Linked DNA regions of Homo sapiens: region 2 is linked to region 1. The links are contacts of gene promoters, found by promoter capture Hi-C in blood cells and fetal thymus (Javierre and others, 2016). All regions are on one chromosome and are shown on one strand. Each heading gives the region's core, a stretch centred on a gene start or on the middle of the fragment in contact. The rest is flanking DNA. Distances are from core to core; before and after follow the strand shown. Region 1 holds the start of GRM6 (glutamate metabotropic receptor 6). Region 2 overlaps ZNF354A (zinc finger protein 354A).

What was found. The method cuts DNA at HindIII sites, captures the fragments that hold promoters and counts their contacts. A CHiCAGO score of 5 or more calls a contact.
Region 2: a fragment that was not itself captured here is called in contact with the fragment with the promoter of GRM6 in region 1 in 1 of 17 cell types (megakaryocytes); the score reaches 5.5 in megakaryocytes.

Annotation. Positions count from the first base shown.
Region 1 is chr5:178,993,435-178,996,589 of GRCh38, reverse strand. It overlaps GRM6 (glutamate metabotropic receptor 6), which reads left to right and starts at 1,270. Exons shown (of 11, transcript NM_000843.4): 1 at 1,270-1,314; 2 at 1,630-2,149. The coding sequence starts at 1,646. The HindIII fragment of the contact is 9,329 bases long and covers 1-3,155 here.
Region 2 is chr5:178,718,976-178,721,747 of GRCh38, reverse strand. The region is part of intron 4 of ZNF354A (zinc finger protein 354A); the gene reads left to right. Among named protein-coding and RNA genes, the nearest start is that of ZNF354A, 10 kb to the left of the region's middle. The HindIII fragment of the contact is 527 bases long and covers 1,070-1,596 here.

The DNA.
Region 1 (3,155 bases), core at 21-2,520:
TCCCACTGTTAAAATGGATAGGAGCAGGGCTAGGCCCAGCCTGTTGACTCTGGGCTTCCACCAGGAGAAGTGGTTCTGGCAGTAGAAACTATCGGGGCCTGGGAGAGGCGGGGGAAGAGAGAAAGGTGGCATGTTTCTTGCTTGCTCCCTCTACCAGCCTTGTCCAAATCCCCGCAGCCACCCTAATCCAGCCTGTCTAATGGAGCCCAAGCCGGCTCAGGCCCTCGGACGAGGAGCCTGCTAATCCCTGTGGCTAGGAGCTCACCACCTGTCTCCAGGACGCCCTTTGCTCTCTTGGCATCAGAGAGCCAAATCCTGGGCCTCGGATGGGGGGATGATAAAAGCATCTTTTGGCCAAGCCCCCTCACCTTGGCCTCCACGATGAGATGGGGAGTTAGGTGCAGAGAGCGTTGGCACAGTGAGCACCGCAGCTCGAGTGGCTGCCTCAGACCCAGAGCCCGAGGAGACTTTATACGGAGCCAGAACGACCCCGCGGGGTTCCATCCTCCCAAGCAATAGGCGGGAGTGGGAGCTGCGAGGAAAGCCGGCCCCTCCCCTCCCTCCATCCAAGGCAGTGTGGGCTGTTTGTTTCATGCCATTCTGGGTGTGAATCCTGATGCCCACACATGCCAGCTGCATGCACTTGGGCAACTCAACTCACTCCTCGAGGGCTGTTTCTCGACTGCAGGGTGTTGTAAGTTCGCTAATACTAAAGGCTTCTCCCTCCTGGCCCCTTCCTGCCCCTCGCTCTTCCTCCTCTTCCTTAGGCCCTCCCAGCTCAGGCAGCCCCTGCCCCCTGCAGGGTTCTGCAAGGAGAAAGCTGGGGAATACCTTAGGCAACTGCAGTCAGGAGCACTGGTGGCCAGGACAGAGACAGAGAGACAGAAAAGGGGTCAGGGACAGAGAGAGATAACCGCAGGGAGAGACAGGAAGGGACAGAGACAGAAAAGATTTCCAAGAAGAGGACAGAGGCAGAAAGCCAGGGACAGAGACTGAGAAACAGAGACCTAGAGGCAGAAGAAGACTGAGATAGAGATGGACAGAGATTGTGTCAGACACAGCCCCAGAGACAGCCAGACAGTCTGAGTCAGACGCAAACCAAAGACAAGAAAACAGGAAAACAGACCCAGAGATTGGGAGAGGGAGGGGAAGGAGATGCGGGGAGAGCCAGCACCGCCACCCCCCACACTCAGGAGGGGTCTCCACCCTCGGAGCGGTCTCTCATCCCTCCCTAGAATCCTTAAATCCTCTCTCGCTCAGGGCCTCGGCCGCATCTGTCACAGACTTGTCCTGAACCGACAGCGGCTGGCGCAGGTGACTGGCTTGGGGCGGGAGCCTGGGTGTGCGCTGGGGATGGACCCCGAGGAAGAGGGGCCAAGCTGTCGGGAAGCGGCAGGGCTGGAGGGGTGGAGGCAGTGGTCGGGCGGGACCCCGGGCGACAGGGTTCGGCGCTTGTAAGAGCGAGACGGAGGCCCGGGCAGGCCGGCTGAGCTAACTCCCCAGAGCCGAAGTGGAAGGCGCGCCCCGAGCGCCTTCTCCCCAGGACCCCGGTGTCCCTCCCCGCGCCCCGAGCCCGCGCTCTCCTTCCCCCGCCCTCAGAGCGCTCCCCGCCCCTCTGTCTCCCCGCAGCCCGCTAGACGAGCCGATGGCGCGGCCCCGGAGAGCCCGGGAGCCGCTGCTCGTGGCGCTGCTGCCGCTGGCGTGGCTGGCGCAGGCGGGCCTGGCGCGCGCGGCGGGCTCTGTGCGCCTGGCGGGCGGCCTGACGCTGGGCGGCCTGTTCCCGGTGCACGCGCGGGGCGCGGCGGGCCGGGCGTGCGGGCAGCTGAAGAAGGAGCAGGGCGTGCACCGGCTGGAGGCCATGCTGTACGCGCTGGACCGCGTCAACGCCGACCCCGAGCTGCTGCCCGGCGTGCGCCTGGGCGCGCGGCTGCTGGACACCTGCTCGCGGGACACCTACGCGCTGGAGCAGGCGCTGAGCTTCGTGCAGGCGCTGATCCGCGGCCGCGGCGACGGCGACGAGGTGGGCGTGCGCTGCCCGGGAGGCGTCCCTCCGCTGCGCCCCGCGCCCCCCGAGCGCGTCGTGGCCGTCGTGGGCGCCTCGGCCAGCTCCGTCTCCATCATGGTCGCCAACGTGCTGCGCCTGTTTGCGGTGAGGGCCGCGGGGCCGGGCTCGGTGTCCAGCGTCCCTCTCCCGTCCTCGCCCTGGGGTGGCCCAAGTCTCCTTCCTTTACTTCTTCTGAAAGAGTCTCCGTTTTAATCACTCGAATTCACACAGCGTCAAAGAAGCCCTGTCAGTTGAGCCCGACGCAGGCCTGAATCGGCTCCACCCAAACACTCCAGCCGCCCATGTCTACCCCGCCCCGCGAGGGCGCCCCTTCCCGGGCGGGTGCCACCTACGCCTCTGGCCGGTTGGCTGGGGAGGGCGGCCTGACTTCAGCCCCCATTTGCCAGCCTGCTCGGGTGCCCTTGTTCTGGGCACACCCCTGCAACCATACAAGGTGCTCCTGCCCCCTGGGCCTGCGGAGCGCTCGAGTGATATTGCAACTTTGAGTTTTGTTTGGAACCCGGGCCCTTCTTCCAGAGCAGCAACTGGGGCGTGTCCCTGGGCTGCTATGGGGGATGGATAGGCCTGAAAGGTCTGGTCTTTCTCTTTTTTGATCATTTAAATTTATTTTCAAAATGCCTTGAACTCTCCCTCAAGGGGCATCTGAGAGCAGGGCGGGGCGTTCCCTTCTGAGCTCTGGTCTCCTGCACCCTGCCCTGCGCAGGTGCCCGGGCTGGCCCTGCTCTGTCCTCAAATGTAGGGAACTGTCCCGTGAGGGGCAGCGTGTTCCTTGCAGTCCTAGGGGCCAGCAGAATCGGGATTAGGAGGGCTTTGGCATACAAGTTTGGGGGTTTTCGATTTGGTCATTCACTGGGGGTTGTGGGACAGTTTTTCTGGGGTTCTGTGGCGGGAGGGGCCTGTGTGCATCCGGCTCTCTGTGAAGGAGGAAGGCCTGGCTTCCATCTACCTAGGAGAGGAACTTCTGTTTCCTGAGAGCTTCTCCGACTCCCGGGCGCAGCGTCTGTGTTTGTTCCAGGCGTGCGGGGCCGCTCCCTATCGTCTGCGCACATGAAAGCCCCCATCCCTGTTTCCTCGGATTGGCAGTGTTGAT
Region 2 (2,772 bases), core at 84-2,583, 270 kb after region 1:
TAGAGGATGAGTCTATGATTGAAGTTGCCTGTGGAAAGATGCAGAGTGAGAAGAACTGGGGGCCTAGAACTAAAGCTAAGGCACTCCAAGGATGATAAACTGTGGTACGTCCACACAGCTGTAAAGTGGAATGAGGAGGACCTCTGTAACTTCTACTATGGAGTGATCTCCAGAATGTGAGAATAAGTGCAGAACAGCACAGTTAGTACTGTTATCTAAGAAAGGTGGGTGGGAATACCAAGAAAAGTGTGTGTGTATTTACTTACACTGTCATGGAGCACATAATGTTTCAGTCAATGATAGCCTACATATATGATGATGCTCCCATAGATGATAATACTGCATTTTTCCTGTCCCTTTTCTATGTTTTAATATGTTGAGATGCACAAATACTTACAATTGTGTTACAGTAGCCTACAGTATTCAGCTAAGTAACATGCTGTATAGGGGTATAGCCTAGGTGTGTAGTAGCCTATACCATCTAGATTTGTGTAACACACTCTGATGACTGCACAACATCGCCAACAACGCGTATCTCAGAACATATCCCAGTCATTAAGCAGTGCAATTATTTTTTTTAGAAAGATAAAAGCAAAAGAAAAAAAAGGAGATCAATAAAAATGGTTATCTCTAAGGTGAAGGAAGAAAAAGGATGGAACAGGGGTAGAATCTATGACTTTTTGAGGTCTCAAAATTTTGACTTCAGAACTATAAAAATGGTTTATAAAATTATAAGACAAAATTAAACAAAAATGAGAAAGTACCCCCTACATATTGAAAGCAGAATGAAACAACCCTAATTGTGTTCCAGGTTGGTGGCTTAGCCACAAAAAGAATTATTTGAATTGCCTTTACATTGCAGCAGTTTGACTTATTAGTGTAGGTATTCTAGGGGCAAAAGTAACTGCAAGCAGTGGTGTTAATTTTGATGGATGTGCTAAGAGCGGTTTTGATGTTTTTACAGATGAAATGATTTTGCTGTCTGGGATGTGCTCTAGCATAACCTAGTGGACGAGATGAAAGGGTTTGTGTTAGTTTGCTAGGGCTCCATACTGAAGTACCACAAGCTTCGTGGCTTAAAACAGTAGAGATTTACTGTCTCACAGTTCTGAAGGTCAAAATCAAGATATTCGCAGGGCCCCGCTCCCTCTGAGACTCTGCATAGAATTCTTCCTTGCCTTTTGCTAGCTTGTAGCGATGGCCAACTTGGAGATCTCCGTGGCCTGCAGCTGCATCAGTCCTATCTGTGCCTCCGTCTTCACACTGTGTTCGCCCGGTGTCTTCACATCATCTTTCCTTCTGGATGCCTGTGTCCAAATTTCCCCAGTTTACGGGGACAGCAGTCACGCTGGATTAGGGCTCACCCCAATGACTTCATCTTAATTTGATTGAACGTGCAAAGACCATATTTTAAAGTAAGGTCACGTTCTGAGGTCCTGGAAGTTAGGACTTCTACGTCTCTCTTTTGAATGATGCGGTTCAGCCCATAACAAGGTTGTCAATAGAATAGTGTTGCTGGTTATTGAAACTGGCTGGAGATTCACTGTACAATTCACACTACTTTTACATATGCTGAAAATTTCTATGTTAAAAGCTTTAAAAATAAGAGTTACCACAACAACATTTCTAAAACAGCTTTTCTCTTTTCCACCAGCACAAAGATGATAGAGGATGTTTACAAATAGGCAGTACTACCCCCATCATGGTTTATGTGCAGTTCCCAGCAGATTGCTCCTTGAGTTCTCTGACTCTAGAAAACCTTGTGAGACTGCAAATGCAAGTGACATTTTTTTTTTTTTTTGAGACGGAGTCTCGCTCTGTCGCCCAGGCTGGAGTGCGGTGGCGGGATCTCGGCTCACTGCAAGCTCCGCCTCCCGGGTTCACGCCATTCTCCTGCCTCAGCCTCCCAAGTAGCTGGGACTACAGGCGCCCGCCACTACGCCCGGCTAATTTTTTGTATTTTTAGTAGAGACGGGGTTTCACCGTTTTAGCCGGGATGGTCTCGATCTCCTGACCTCGTGATCCGCCCGCCTCGGCCTCCCAAAGTGCTGGGATTACAGGCGTGAGCCACCGCGCCCGGCCGCAAGTGACATTTTTATAGGTGGAGCTTTTACTCTGACTAGCTATAGGATAAGGTGGGGGTGGATACTTCAGCAAATAAGTCTGGAAAACTGACTTGCATTCAAAGACTTGGGTGCTGCCTTCAGCCCTTGTGCTACCCCTTCATCTAGCCTATGGCGATTCCTTTCACATCCTATCTTATATGTCAATTCTTACGAAACACTCCAGCAGCGTCCTGCTGCACCCCTTTTCTACCTGCACCCTCACTATCTAAGGACAGTTGGATATGATTCTAAGCTCGTGTTCACGTCCATTTCTAGCTTATGTTTCTATTGTAGAAATTGTCACATTGTATTGTGATTACCTACTGATGTCTTCATTTCTAATGTCTGACTATAAACTCTCTGAAGAAATCAACTGTTCCTTTTAATTACTGGATCCGTAGGGAACTGTGGATCACCGATGCCTAGGATAGAGCCTAATACATAGTAGGTACTTTTTAAATATTTGATAAATTAATAAAGTAAGGCGTGACCAATGCTTTTTGAAATAACATGACCAATTCTGTGTATTAAGAGGGGTAAATCCAGTGGGAAATAATACTGGAAAGGCAAGAAACAGGTCAAAGGAATAACTTAAGATCAGGAGCAAGTCACTCTACAGTGAGGAGATCCTGAACTTAGACATATTCACGATGGCTTATTAGAGACA